Linked DNA regions of Homo sapiens: all the other regions are linked to region 1. Evidence: promoter capture Hi-C in 16 types of primary human blood cells and fetal thymus (Javierre and others, 2016). All regions are on one chromosome and are shown on one strand. The core of a region is centred on a gene start or on the middle of the fragment in contact, and the rest is flanking DNA. Distances in the headings are between cores, read along the strand shown.

What was found. The method cuts DNA at HindIII sites, captures the fragments that hold promoters and counts their contacts. A CHiCAGO score of 5 or more calls a contact.
Region 2: a contact is called between the fragment with the promoter of ZMYND8 here and the fragment with the promoter of PARD6B in region 1, in 1 of 17 cell types (activated CD4 T cells). The highest score is 5.3, in activated CD4 T cells.
Region 3: the fragment with the promoter of NCOA3 here is called in contact with the fragment with the promoter of PARD6B in region 1 in 1 of 17 cell types (fetal thymus); the score reaches 6.9 in fetal thymus.

Annotation. Positions count from the first base shown.
Region 1 is chr20:50,729,610-50,734,291 of GRCh38, forward strand. It overlaps PARD6B (par-6 family cell polarity regulator beta), which reads left to right and starts at 1,971. Exons shown (of 3, transcript NM_032521.3): 1 at 1,971-2,243. The coding sequence starts at 2,178. RefSeq lists enhancers at 1-121, 1,074-1,123 and silencers at 1,314-1,523, 1,624-2,413. The HindIII fragment of the contact is 2,238 bases long and covers 1,156-3,393 here.
Region 2 is chr20:47,354,648-47,359,329 of GRCh38, forward strand. It overlaps ZMYND8 (zinc finger MYND-type containing 8), which reads right to left and starts at 2,052. Exons shown (of 23, transcript NM_001281775.3): 1 at 2,010-2,052. The coding sequence starts at 2,023. RefSeq lists enhancers at 1,863-2,032, 1,876-2,483, 2,018-2,312, 3,063-3,412, 3,092-3,697 and 5 more and a cis regulatory region at 4,159-4,372. The HindIII fragment of the contact is 2,834 bases long and covers 1,714-4,547 here.
Region 3 is chr20:47,499,640-47,504,321 of GRCh38, forward strand. NCOA3 (nuclear receptor coactivator 3) reads left to right here and starts at 2,248. Exons shown (of 23, transcript NM_181659.3): 1 at 2,248-2,380. RefSeq lists a cis regulatory region at 1,164-1,236 and a silencer at 2,488-2,607. The HindIII fragment of the contact is 2,001 bases long and covers 1,579-3,579 here.

The DNA of each region.
Region 1 (4,682 bases), core at 721-3,220:
AATATTGAAAGACATTACACATAAACAAAGTACTTTGGGGTCCTCCATGATTTTTAATAGTGTAAAGGGGTCTTGAAAACAAAAAGGTTGGGAACTGCTGTGCTAGTCCAAACAGGGGAGTTACAGGCCCTGACATGCACTTTATTTCCGGCTGAACTTGAGTCACCTCCTATGTGCTTTCAAACAGGGGGTGGAGGCAGCTTGCTTATTTATTATACAGCTTGGATTGGTGTCCTTTCCACCTGTGCTGCCACAGGTGGCCAGAAAAACCTTAAATCCTCCCACAAAACGTCTGGTTACCTGAATCCTCCAGAGGGAAAAAAATGAGCTTCTCGCCTTTGAACCCAAGTGGGGCAAAGAGCCTGCAGAAGGGACACCCTCAGTGGCAGCACCCAGCAAAGACCCATCTGAGTACCCGCTGGGAGTCGGGTTCTGTGCCACTCAATGCCAGCAAAGCACAAGCCGTCCCTGCGCCTTCGGGAGCTTTCATTCTAGGCTGGTGGCAGATTACTCACAAAACTCAGATGCACACAAAAATGGGAAACCTGTAACTTGTAACAAGTGCTGGGCAACAGGGGTACAAGTGTTAGGAGGCCTCCGAGGTGGGCAGGGAGATGAGGGGAGGAAGGTACCCTAACCACTCTTCTTGCCAAATCTCAGGTTGGACCTTCCCCTCCACCTCCATTCCCCTGCCCCCTTCCTGGCTTGCAGGTTTCAACAGCTCTTGGATTCCCGGGTCCCACAGGGAGACCTTGGGACCTGGGAATCTCCTCCAGCCAAAAGCTTCAGTCTTCTCCTCTCCTCCCCATGACCCACAGGGTCTGTGTGAAGAGAGGCCGGGCTCTGGGACGTTCAGAGAGGAGGATTCAGCGTTTTGTTGCTCTGGGACACAGCTTGGTCACTCCGGGAAACGAACACAACCTAGAGGCTGTCATTTGTAGAAACAGCGAATGGCCAAGGAATGGCGGGAGGAGGGAAAAGGAAGACTTTTAAAGAAAAAAAAAAAAAGCCCTGAAAGACTGGACTAGAAATCCTCAGGGAGGCTGGGCCTGCAAGGAGCCTTCCCGCGCCTCAGCCCACTTTCCTTCCCTCTCGACCTGACGGACTTAAGGCGTGCAGAGTCTCTTCGGACAAAATGAAGCCAAGAGAGCCCTAAGCTTCTCCCCCAGCAACCGCTGCAGAGGCGGGAAAACTTGAATTTTGCAACCAAGAGTTGCAGCGGGACGCCTAAGCAACGATAAGGGGCGGTGGAGGGGCGTCGTTGGGGGCTGCAGCATCCCAAAGTGGAAGCGGGAAGGGGGCCCGGCTGGAACCGAATAGCCCCGCAGCGCCTCGGCAACCGGACGGGCGGCGCATCCAATCCCCTGGACCGTGCGTGTGACTGGCGCGCGCTAAGCGGCGCGAGCCCCGGCGGAGCCGGGCAACCAGGCGCGCGCTCGCGCGTGCGCAAAAGGCCCACCCAGCCGAGCCCTTCTTCAGGTGCGCTCGCGCTTCCGGCCGGCCTCCCCGCGTGCCTTCCCGGGGCGGAAACTCCAGCACCCGCGCATGCGCCTTCTGGCTCTCCGGCCTGAAGCGGGGCGGAGGGCCATGGCTTCAGGTGATCCCGCCCCTCCCTCGTAGCGCAGGACCAATCGTGCGGTGGTAGGCGGGGTTTTGAGGAGGCAGCCCGCCCACGCACCGCGCGAGGCGTGTATCGATTGGTTGGCGCCGCGGGCGCAGGTGCGCGCTTTCTATTGGGTGTGGGCGGAACGCGAGGGATTGCGGCATCTTCGGGGGCTGCAGGTGAGCGCGCGCACGCGCCGCGGCTGTGGTCCGCTCGGGTGCGCGCGCGCGGGCTCGCGGGGGAGGCGGCAGAGGGAGAGGTTGCGGCGCTTGTGGCCTCCGCTCCGCCCCCTCCTCTCCTCCAGCGCTGTCGCCGTCGCCGCCGGGGCCCGGAGGGAGGGAGCTGCTTCCCCGCCTGCCGCGCCACCAGTCCGACCCTCGGTCCCGCCGTGTGAGCAGCTGGTGGAGTGGAGCTCAGCGCGGACGCCGGAGCTGCGGCCGCCCCCTCTGCAGGTGCCTGTGAGGAGGCGCCCGGGCCGCAACCGCTTTCCGAGATCCCCAGTCGCGCACTCGCTCCCCGCGCTCCTGAGGGGCCGCCCGGCCGGAGGAGGCCGTCGCGGGGCTCGGCGTTCAGCATGAACCGCAGCCACCGGCACGGGGCGGGCAGCGGCTGCCTGGGCACTATGGAGGTGAAGAGCAAGGTGCGCGGGGCCCGGGCTGGGCGGAGCGGCGGGCCTGGGGGGCCGGGGCCTGGGAGAGGCCGGGCCAGGCTCGGAGCGCCGGGGGAGGCGACGGGCTGAGCTGCCCCGGGGTCTGGACGGTGCGGTCGGGAGACTGTGGGTAATAAACTTGCCGAGGAGGGGGTGGCGGGGGTCAGGGGGCGCTAGTGTCCGCCCCTGGCCCGGGCAGGAAGAAGACCTAGTCCAGCATTTAATCTCATTCCGTAAATCTCATTCCCGTGTTCACGGACGGGAGTAGGGGCCAAGGTATATCCAAGGATGGCGCACACTGAGTGAAATGCGAGGCTGCTCAAAAGGTGTAGGAGAATCCTGCCTGCTGGGCTGTGAGTAAAGGGCCCTGGACCACCCCGTTGTTCCCACTTTCTGTGGTTAAGGGGCGCATCGAGTGGCGAAGGAGAGAGCCCAGTGAACTAAACAGCCCTTTAAAAGTTCGCTTTGCTTCCTGCTGGCGCTCTTTCTAGCACTAACTTTGGTATGCATTTAATCTGTAAAATTAGTACTATCACCTTACGTTGGAGTAGCACTTTACAGTTTGACTCTAGATGCTCTTTTCATTCCATCCTGCTACCTACTCACATCAAGTGCTTTTCCCCTTGACCAACGGTATGCCAATCTGCTGATAATTACTTCGGTATTCACTGAATTTCTAAATCTCAAGGCTCAGTGAGCAGGGTAGTCTGTAGGGAGGGATTAGTTAGGGAATGCCTTCCAAAGGGGGTTTTGAGCTGGAATTTGAAGGTGATCGGCAGCCAAGGGAACACTTTCAGCAAGCGTTTCTTGAGTTGAAGAGTTAAAAGGAGCTTAGATAATCTAGCCCAATTCTCTGAGAAGACTGAGGCTTAGAAAGGTTATGACTTCCTCAAGCTGTTTTTTTGCAAAGCCTTCATGCCTTTTTAATAACTTCTAGACATTGCAGAATACAAAACAGGACACTGGCTGGGCCCTGAGAACATTTAAAATAGAATTGAGAAGGCCAAAACACAGAAAAGGAGAAAATTGAAAGTATATCAATTTCAAAAAAAAAAAGTAATGGAGCATCATAGATGGTAAGACTACTAAGGAGTATGTAAAATCAAGGAGTGATTTGAGTGAGGTACAGTGGAGTAAGGAAAGCTTCCTAGAGCCTCTAGGTAGAATAGTTTTATTGTCTAGGGTTGATAAGCAAAGTTCTGTAAGTTTCTGTAACTGAGAATCACATCGAGAAAATCGACATTCGTTTGTAACATCATTAAAAAATGTGATTTGAGTCTGGGCGCGGTGGCTCACGCCTGTAACCCCAGCACTTTGGGAGGCCGAGGCGGGTGGATCACCTGAGGTCAGGAGTGCCAGACCAGCCTGGCCAACATGATGAAACCCCATCTCTACTAAAAATACAAAAAATTTTTAGCCGGCCGTGGTGGCACATGCCTGTAATCCCAGCTACTTGAGAGGCTGAGGCAGGAGAATCGCTTGAATCCGGGAGGTGGAGGTTGCAGTGAGCCAAGTTTGCACCATTGCACTCCAGCCTGGGCAACAAGAGCAAAACTCCATCTCAAAAAACAAAACAAAACAAAAACAAAAACGGCTTGGCACTTACATGAGGATTGGCACTAGTTTCAGAATTAGTAAGAAAAGACGTGTAGTTACAGCAATTTAAGGAATGTGCATGTCCATGTGTCCTCTGTGCACAGCATAGCAAATTGAAGTGACTTGCTTGAGCTATAGCGTTAAGATGACCCAAAATACATAGCAGAACTTTTCCTTTAGCGGTATGGTGGCAGTAGAGGTTCCATGCCCAGTGGTTGAACCTTCTTATGGCATTTTTGTTATAAGTTTAGTTTGGATTTGTGGGAGTTGAGGTTATGGAAAGAAAAACACTTGTGATATTGCATAATCTTAAAATTTTAAGTTTATAGCCCTAATCTTGGTAGCAAGTCTTTAATTTTTTTCCACAGAAAAAAATGAGTAGGAATTCTAAGTATACTGATAAATACAATCAAATAGTAATTTATCTCTAGTACTAAGAAACCTTGAGTGCTTTAAAACTGGAATTTCAGGCTTTTTGCCTTTCTCTTGTCAACTGATTTGTGAATCTTTCACTTACTTCTGTCTAAACTACATGTTGTATATTTGAACTGCCATACTGCACTTTCAGCTAACTGTGTCTTTTAAATAGAATCATACACTGATTCTAGGAACATGTGCTGAATGAAGTCGGTCCCACTATTCTAGCTGTTGACAAATAGGCAAGATATAGGTAGTGAGTGTTTCTAGTATGTCTATGACACCTTATATGTTTCAAATATATATTGCTGATACATTTATTTTCAGTAGATTGAAACATTTGTCACCTTAACCATTTAAAAAATATTTGGAAGGGTTTTTGAAACAGTATTTTCTTTGACATTGCTTTAGTGATAC
Region 2 (4,682 bases), core at 802-3,301, 3.4 Mb before region 1:
ACTCATTTGAAAGAAAAAAGATTACTGACTCCATAAAGTTGACATAACACAGCAATTGAATATATTTCCTGCATTTACGGTCATGTCGGATTGGTCTCCAAGCTGAAAATTTATGTACTGAACTTCTAGGGAAATTCTGAAGGTACTGCTAAACAAGACTCTACTTTTCCCACTTAACTTCTAGCTGCAGCCTTAAGTGGTCAAGGGAAATGTAAAAAGTGAGAAATCTTATGTGGGGCCAGCATGCATACAGATGTGTGGAGGAGACCTGAAAAAAGGCCAAAATGTGTTGGTCAGTGAGTCCTGAATCAAACCCAGTCTGGTGGTAGATGAGATTTTGCACTATACATAAGTCCTAAAACATGAGCACACTGACACCACCCCCCCAACACACACATACCACCACCACCACCAGCTTCTACACCACCAATGTTTTTAGGGCTCTGCACCTCTAAGAACAAGCAGTTTCATGACATTTCACAAGCACATCACCTACTCACAGTTTGAATATCCAAACAAACCCCATTAAAGGTCTAGAGTCAAGTCACAATGAACTGAACATTTCTCCCCTGACTCAGGGTAAACAGGAAGTATAATCTTCAATCCTAGCTGCAGGTTATCAGGAAAAACAGTGGATTCAAACAGTCACCTAAAATCAAGACACTCTTTAAAAAGCCCTTATTTTGTTCCTGCTAATGAAGCCCCCAACTCCTGTAGCCAAGACCCACTATTACAAACAGACCCCAAATGTTCGCAAAACTCTTCAAACATGGTCACAGAGGAAATGGATTGCTTTACTTACCCAACAAATGTTCAAGCAACCGTCTCATTTTTCCACAGTTAGGAAGAGAGAACAGGCTGGCAGATTTGGGACTTGATCAAAAAGGAAATTTTTTTAAACAGTTACATGGTATTATTAAAAACACACACAACAACAACAACACAACCCAACAACTGAATATGGAATGCTGTCATGAGCCACAGACATGATTTTATTTCCTCTACACTCCATGACACAGGAGAAGAGAGGAGGATACAATGTATAAAAGGGACAGGAAAATGAAAACAAGGATAAAAGGTAACATTAGTTCCTTGAAAATCATGCAAGAGTAGAAAGCTAAGGGATTCAGAATCCTTGCAGATTTTTTTTTTTTTTTTTTTTTGCAGGATGTTGTCCAAGATCTCTCCCCCCACCCCCCAGTCCCCATCCCTACTCCAAAAAACTTCCTCCAAAGCCTAGAAAACACTTTCAGAAACATTTGCTGGCTGTAGGCTGGCTTGCAGAACACTCTGTAGCAACCTAAGTCAGGAAAACAGGCTGAACAATGTAGTTTCAAGTGCAGAAGCTCTGTAGAATAAGAGAAGACCGTGTACAGACACCACCACCCACCTAGGCCCCAGGAGCTAGACTCTCCTTAGCACTGCTCTGCTGAGGGCACAATTCTTTTGCAAACACGCTCCTCTCTTGTCAAAACTTATCCAGCCTTCCCAGAACCTCTTTGGAGAGGCAAACTTGCCTGCTCTGCTGTCTGCCATGAGCTCTCCTTGGAGAGGAGCCTGTTTGCTTACCTTCCATTTTCTTCCCCCAGCAGGGCATGTGGCAAAAGAGAAGACAATAGTGCAGGGGTGGGAGGGGGGGAACTGCTCAGAGAGAGAGAGAGGGGAAGAGAGAGGGAAGAGGGAAAGAAAAAAAAAAAAAGAAGGAAAAAAAAAAGCTTCTTTTTTGGCATACCAGGATCTAGCTTCAAACTCTTCCAGAAACACCATGCCCTGGTGGAAGGAAAGGTGTGCCAGGCCCTTGCCAGTTTGCAAAATCAAGCTATGGCTAATGGCTACTGAGCCATGTGACCCAAGAAAGCAAAAAAATTCTCTCTAAACAGTTCCAAGTTAACATAAGTGCTCTGGGGGTGAGTGTGGCACGGCCAGCCACAGAGAAATCACACTGCTCGCCCACAATTCGGATGTCTCAGAGGGAGGGGGAAAAAAGATGGTTAAAAAGTCGAGCTTACCTCTGTGGATGCATTGTTAACACTGTGTAATGTCAATACTTATAAAACATGGAGGACAGGCTCCTAGTTCTCACAGAAAAAGGGTTTGGCACTTCGGCTGATGATCTGGCCGCCTAATAAAAGCTCATCCCCGATTGGCTGCCCCGGCAAATCGGAGTGTAAAGCCGCCCCGGATTGGCTGAAACACTTCCTGAGCGATTATCTTTGTGAGGCTCGGGTGAGCAAGAGCCATCCTGTGCATAGAAAAAGACAGGCTAAGCTAGGCCTTTTGCAGCAAGAAAAACTTGGGAAAGGGGCCCCCACACGCACTTCTCCTGCACCCTGGCTAGATTTCCCGGCACGGGCCAGCCAGGGCAGCCAGCCTGACCTGCTCCAGGAAAGCCTGAGGCCCGGAGGTCCCTGGGAAGGGAGTTTCTTGGAGTGGGCTGGAACGGCTCACCCTCACCTGCCCCCAGAGAAACGGCCCTTGTCCAGGGAGGAAGGCCAGCCTTTTTCTAGAACAGTCCAGCAGGGTGGCTCTCCAAGGGGAAGGGGAAGCTGGGGAGTGGGGAGTCCCGGGGAAACAGCCAAGGGGCCAGAAAAAGGGGCTTGAGGCAGGCCTCTGAGAAGCTGGGGGAAGCAGGCAGCCCGGGGGAGCCCCGAAAAATCAGCAGAGAGCAGCCCTGGCTTCTCAGAGGAGCGAGGAGTAGCTGCTGAGGGGAGGAGGGGAGCAGAGTGGTCAAGTTTGCATAGTCATTGTCCCCATGCCTCCTTGCAAGGCAGGCCAGGGAGCCGTGGGCCTCTCGCGCCCTGCTTAGCCAGTCCTGCAGGCAAAATCAACGTGGGTTCCTGTCGCCCTGCCACGATGCCAAGGGGGACCCCTCTCGGTCCTTACCCTAAGAAAAACCCAAAGCCCTCCTCGCAGGCCACATGCCTGGATCTACAAACTTCCCTTCCCTCCCGGCCCCTCCCCCGCGGCCGAGACCTGCTAAACCTGTCAGTTAAACACAAATCTGACTTCCGTATTAGCCTGCGATGCCTTCGGCTTCCTGCCTGTTAACCCTCTCTCGGACTCGGGGCCTGGCTGGGAAAAACTAGGCCTTGAGATCGCAGCGAAGGCCTGTGGAAAAATACCAGCTGCAGCTCTCCCGGCAGATGCAGAAAGAGAGAGAGAGAGCCGCTGTCTCTCAGCCTTTGCTTCCCAGGGAGGCGTGTACCTTGTGAATCCAGGGCACAGGCAGTGCCTCTCGGGCTGAGAAGCCATTTCAATCCAGAGGGAGACAGAAAGATGGCACGCTCAGCCCGGAAACAAGAGCCCCCATTATGCGTCAGGCCTACCCCCGTAGGTCAGCCCTTCCTGCCACAATCATCCCTGTATGTGTGTGCCTGGGGGAGTTGGGCCCTCCTCGGTGGGCAGACAAATCCCCTGGGCTTCCTAAGGATTCTTGCTTCCATTTATTTGCACAGAGAACGGCTTCTTTTCGTCCCCCAAGGCAGATGGAGCAGCGATTTCACACACAGCCCTCCATTTGGCAGCCCCCCCACCCCCCCATCTCTGGCACCGCTCCCCAGTAAAATATTAACTGGTTGTTCAGAGCTGCTTACAATTCTACCCACTTCAATTGCGTTAGGAGGTCTTTGCTGGTCTCCTCCCTAAAGCTGCCTTCGCAGTTGGTCTGTACCCAGAGATAGAAAAGGACCGTAAAATGTCCCCAGCTTTCTCGCTCTCTTTCCTTCTTCGGCATTTTAAATGACAAGGTGCTTAATTAACAGGATTTTTTAAAACAGCAACCTGGAACCACAGAAGCTAAATAAACACCATTCTTTAGAGGCTGGAGAAAGCGTCCAGAGTTAACGCAGCCATATGCCAGGAGGCATAACTCCGGAGCAATAAAGTCTCCCCTCTCCTCCTAAAATTAGGACTTGTGGGCTTTCTTGTCCCACACGGTTCCCACAAAGAAAACGAAGAGCTGATGGCTTGCTTTCCCTGCCCCCCCCCAACCCCCACATGGACAACAGATGCCCACTGCTTGTACATAAATTCTTCCTGGCCGGGAATCTCATATCAAACAGGCTCAGGAACGAGCTGGGAATCGAAACTCACTGTACGGCAGGGCAGGACCCAGGCTTTATAAAAACGGACAGGATGTTGCTGTTGTTACTGTTTTAGGCTGCTGAGGCCAAGCTGCAGGGAGGGACAGCTCCATGGCCACCCAACCTGACAAAGCTCCAGGGCTCAGGACAGCAGGCCTGGGCCTCACCAAAAGGGAGGGGCCTGCTCTTCCTGGAGGTAGAAAGCTGCATGGGGAGACTAAATGGGAGGAGGCGAGAGGTGGAGGCCACAGTGAAGCAGTGCGTGCTCACCCTCCTAGCTGTGTGGGCAGCGGCCCTCCACCGCCATCCCATATGGAATGCTGTTTGTTTCTGCGGGTGCTGCTTTGAGGGGAACAAACAGGACTGTGGGGTTGGTGGCAGATCTCCCATGCAGCTAAGTCCACGAACCAATGAGGAAATAAAATATGCCGCTGGTGTGCGTGGTGGATTTTAACCTGGGATTAAAGCTTGTTGCATAAGCAGCTACAGCATCCTCCCCGCCTCCCTCCCTCTCTCTGATCACTTGATCACTTGAAATGTTTTCTGGGGCAAAGAGCAGGAAGCTGCTGGCTTATTCTGGCAGCTCTGCTCTGTTTGAGG
Region 3 (4,682 bases), core at 998-3,497, 3.2 Mb before region 1:
TAGAGACTGGGTATCTGCTTTGTTGCCAAGGCTGGTCTTGAACTCCTGGGCTCAAGCAATCTCTCGGCCTTCCAAAGTGTTGGGATTACAGGCCTGAGCCACTGTGCCCTGGTGGAAATATATATATATATATTTTTTTGAGACAGAGTTTCGCTCTTGTGGCCCAGGCTGGAGTGCAGTGGCGCGATCTCGGCTCACTGCAACCTCTGCCTCCCGGGTTCAAGTGATTCTCCTGCCTCAGCCTCCCGAGTAGCCAGGATTATAGGCGCCTGCCACCATGCCCAGCTAATCTTTTGTATTTTTAGTAGAGACGGGGTTTCGCCATGTTGGGCAGGCTGGTCTGGAACTTCTGACCTCAGGTGATCTGCCCACCTTGGCCTCCCAAAGTGTTGGGATTACAGGTGTGAGCCACCGTGCCCGGCCCAGAAATGAGATATTTAATTTTTTAATTTTTACTTTTTTTTTTTTTGAGACGGAGTTTCACTCTTGTTGCCCAGGTTGGAGTGCAATGGTGCCATCTCGGCTCACCGCAACCTCTGCCCCCAGGTTCAAGTGATTCTCCTGCCTCAGCCTCCTGAGTAGCTCGGATTACAGGCATGTGCTACCATGCCCAGCTAATTATGTATTTTTAGTAGTGACGGGGTTTCTCCATATTGGTCAGGCTGGTCTTGAACTCCCGACCTCAGGTGATCTGCCTGCCTTGGCCTCCCAAAGTGCTGGGATTACATTCGTGAGTCACCGCGCCCAGCCAAAATGAGATATTTTAAATAACATAAGTAAACAGAAATATATCATGATTTTAATGATAATTCATGCTCTGAAAATAAATGAAGAAAGGAATAGGAGTAGGGAAAGCTGGGATCAGAGTGGGCAGGAAGTTAAAATAGAGCAGTTAGGGAAAGCCTCACTGAATAAGTGACATTTGGACAATGACCATGGGGAGATTAGGGAATGGGTTATTTGAATTTTCTGGGAAAATACTGTTCTAGGCAGAGGAAATAGCAAGTGCACGATCTTTAAGGCCAGAGTGTGCTAAGCACGTTGGAGAGGCCGAGTCCATTGTAGCTGAGTTACAGAAGTGAGTGGAAGAGAAGAAGGTGATGAGTTTAGAGAGGGAAGGGCAGGGCAAGAGACGGGCTGTATGGGGCTTTGCAGGTTACTGCAAGAATTTTGCAGGAGGGACAGAGACTGACTTGGTTCTTACCAGGATTCCTCTGGCTGCTGTGTTGAGTATAGACTCTAAGAGGAAAGAGTGGAAGCAGGCAGAACACTGAGGAGGCTGTTGCAGTGGTCCAGGTGGGAAATGATGGTGCTGACCGTGGAGGTGGTAAGTGGTCAGATTATTCTATTTTATTTACACTCAACACATCTAATACTGACTCAATATTATCTAACATACAGTCCACATTGAAATTGCCCCCCAAATTCTTTTTACATAAAAAAATCATCCTGAATCCAATCAAGTCTCACCTATTGCTTTTGGTTTTCACCTCTTTCATGCTGTCATATTTTAAAAGACTCCAGGCTAGATGTTGTGTAGAATGTCCCACATTCTGAATTCGTTTATTTTTTCAAGTAAGCTTTTTGTGTGTATGTGGCAAGAATACGACAGAGGTAGCAATATGCTTTCCCCACTGCATCATATTAGGAGACACATAACAACAGTCCTGACCCATTATTGGTGGTGCTAAGTTCGATCACTTGGTAAGGGGGTGCCTGCCAGATCTTTCCATTGTAAAGCAAGCTGTTCTTTATTGTAAGTCATAAATACGCTGTGGGATGATACTTCGGGACTAAATATACCCTGAATATACTGCTGCCCAACAACATTTCACCCAGTGACTTTAGCAGCTAAGGAACAGCCTCGTGGCTTCCGACCTTGTGCCTCAGTTCGCTCATCTGAAAAATGAGGATGATCATGGTCCCTACCGGATGCTTGTTTTGAGGATCCGTGCTTGGCATACCAGAAACGCTCCACAAATGTTAGGTATTACTGGACGAAGGCAAATATGAAAAAAATTAAGGGCAGGGCTAGGACTGCATTCCGGTTCTCCGGATCCCGAGGGAGCTCCCAGTCGATGCTGGGCGAAAGCGGCCGCACGAGCCCACGTCGCCACGCCCTCCGCCGCGGAAGCCAGGGTGGGGGTCGCTGGAACCCTAGGCCGGCCGCGCAAGGCCCCCTGGGACCGGTAGTGCTGGGCGTGGCCTCGGGACTACATATCCCAGTGGCCCCCGTGCGGCGACTTTAGCTGCTGCTGTCTCAGCCGCTCCACAGCGACGGCAGCGGCTGCGGCTTAGTCGGTGGCGGCCGGCGGCGGCTGCGGGCTGAGCGGCGAGTTTCCGATTTAAAGCTGAGCTGCGAGGAAAATGGCGGCGGGAGGTGAGTGGAGATAAAGGAGGAGGCGGTGGCGGGCGAGGGGGTGGAGTGCGAGGCGGAGGGAAGAGGGGCGAGTTCCCCAGGCTGCGAGAGCCAGCGGCTTCAGATCTGCCAAGGCACTGAGGGGCGCGCCGGCCGGGGGACGCGCTGAGGTAGTTTCGGGGTGTCGGGGCCGCGCCGCTTCCCCTCAGCCCGGGGGGCGGCCCGCGGCGGTAGGAGCTGAGACGAAGCTGGGTGGCAGTCCGCTTGGGGATCCGAGGGGGTCCCCGCGCGGAGGGGTCACCCGAGGAGTTTGCGGGGGGACTGCAGGGGCCCACTTTCCCCTTCTGTCCCTAAAGTTTTTTCTTCCTCTTGCCTCCCCCAGCCCTTTTGAAAGCTCCCCGCGTCGTCCTCCTGCTGCCCCGGCTCCTTAGCAGCTTCTGGGACGCACGGGAGGGAAAAGCCGCGGGGACCCCCCCCACCCCAGCCTCCCAGCCGGGTGAGATTTGGTTGCTGTGTTTCCTCCTCACTTGGGCATTTAAAAAATATTTTAACACGAATTGTCCGCGGAATTTTCATGTTGGGCTCGGGTAGCTTCTTAGTTTTCTCGGTAAAAAGGCGTTTTACTACCTCTGGTGTGAAGGCTGGGAAATGGCAAGTGGGAAGTTGGTTGATAAAATTAGGAGTTTGGCTGTCTTTATTACTACTTTTTTTTTTTTTTTGCTCTCCCCATCTCTCATTTTATGAACATCGACCCAGTTCGTCATGGTTTAAATAAACTGCTTGTCTTGTACCTGCCTTAACAAAACTAGCCATGGGTCGTTGGGAGACTTAGTTGCTTCCTAGGCAGTTTGAGGGCATCTAGGGTGGAAAAGTTAACCGAGAGAGCGAGCATCTACCTCACTGGCAGGATCTGGGATTCCCAAATGGAATGACACGGAAGCTATGAGATTCTCTCGAAGTCGAAACTTTTTTCCCCCTCCCGAATGCGAAGACTTCCTTTTTGCAATATTTGAGCAGGGCTTCAAAACCAACCTGTTTTTGTTATTAAGCCTGTACGGTAAAGAAACAGGAAGGAGAGTACCAGCTGTCTTGCTGCAGTGGTTTTAAATGGAGTTGAATGAGATGCGTGAGAGTGGTAGTAGTATTGAGTAAGATTGCTGCATCTCTTTGATTTAAATGCCTGGCCTCGGATCCACCTAACTGATCCCTGGCTGCAAAAAAGCTTCAGTATTTGTTGCAGCAGGTTGTTGAGAAGGTGATTGGAGGAATAAAAATCTTAGGTCTTCAGCGAATGCTGCACAAACGAAAATGTTAATGGAAACCTGTAAGTTTGTGAATTGTTTGTTCTTGAAAATATTTTAAATGTATGCTCATTTAGAATATGGTTCTACCGAATGATATCCAATTGGAAAGGTACAAACACATTGAAAAGTGAATCTCTCTTTCACGCCAAACCCTACAGTTTCCCCTTCTCAGAGGCAAAGACTGTTACTGGTTTTTAGAATATCCTTGGTCTTTGGAATAATTATTTTAAGATTTTCATTTGAAACCACTTCTGTTGGATACCAAAAGCAGGGAAATAAAATGAACAGAAGAAACAGAAAATGTGGGAATACTGTTTTTGCTCTCTTAAAAAAAATGTTGATAGCTATTGGAAAAAGCTCTTCAGAACTTACTGCTTATGTCACCTTATCTATTAATACCGTTAAATAACAATCTGTGGGGCTTTAGGATAAAGAACTCTGCCAGGGTTCATTGTTTGTATGTACAATGAATCCTCTGCTTGTAACATGTAAAATGATATTGAACACTATAGCTCCTGTCACTAGAGGTTGCTTCAGGTTCTGCATTTCAATGAGCAGAAATCTAAATTGCCTGTGATCCTAAATTATAGGGGCATTTTATGTATAGATGGAAATGACTTAATTGTCCAATCAGCATTTGAAATAAGAGGCATATACCAGCTTTTGGCATATAGAAGATGGGGATTGTGGACTAAGCGGGAGGCTGTAATATTTCTAGAGCAGTTATAGGAAATATTTCTGCCATAAGATATTTAATTACAAAGGCTTTGAAAATGTACAACTTAAGCATCAATAGCGAGATTTATATTTTTATATTTTAGAATGGTTGTTTTAACAGCTTGCCAACACTAACAATTTGCTAAGGAAATTCAGTGATATTAGAGCTAGGTTATTAAAGATTATATTAAATAATTTAACTGTATTTTGAAAATGATTATGCTGTGCATTTCCTTCTCTGTATAAAAATTATTTCTAAAAAGTGCCACGCACCTCCCGAGCAAATAAAATAGAATTCAGTA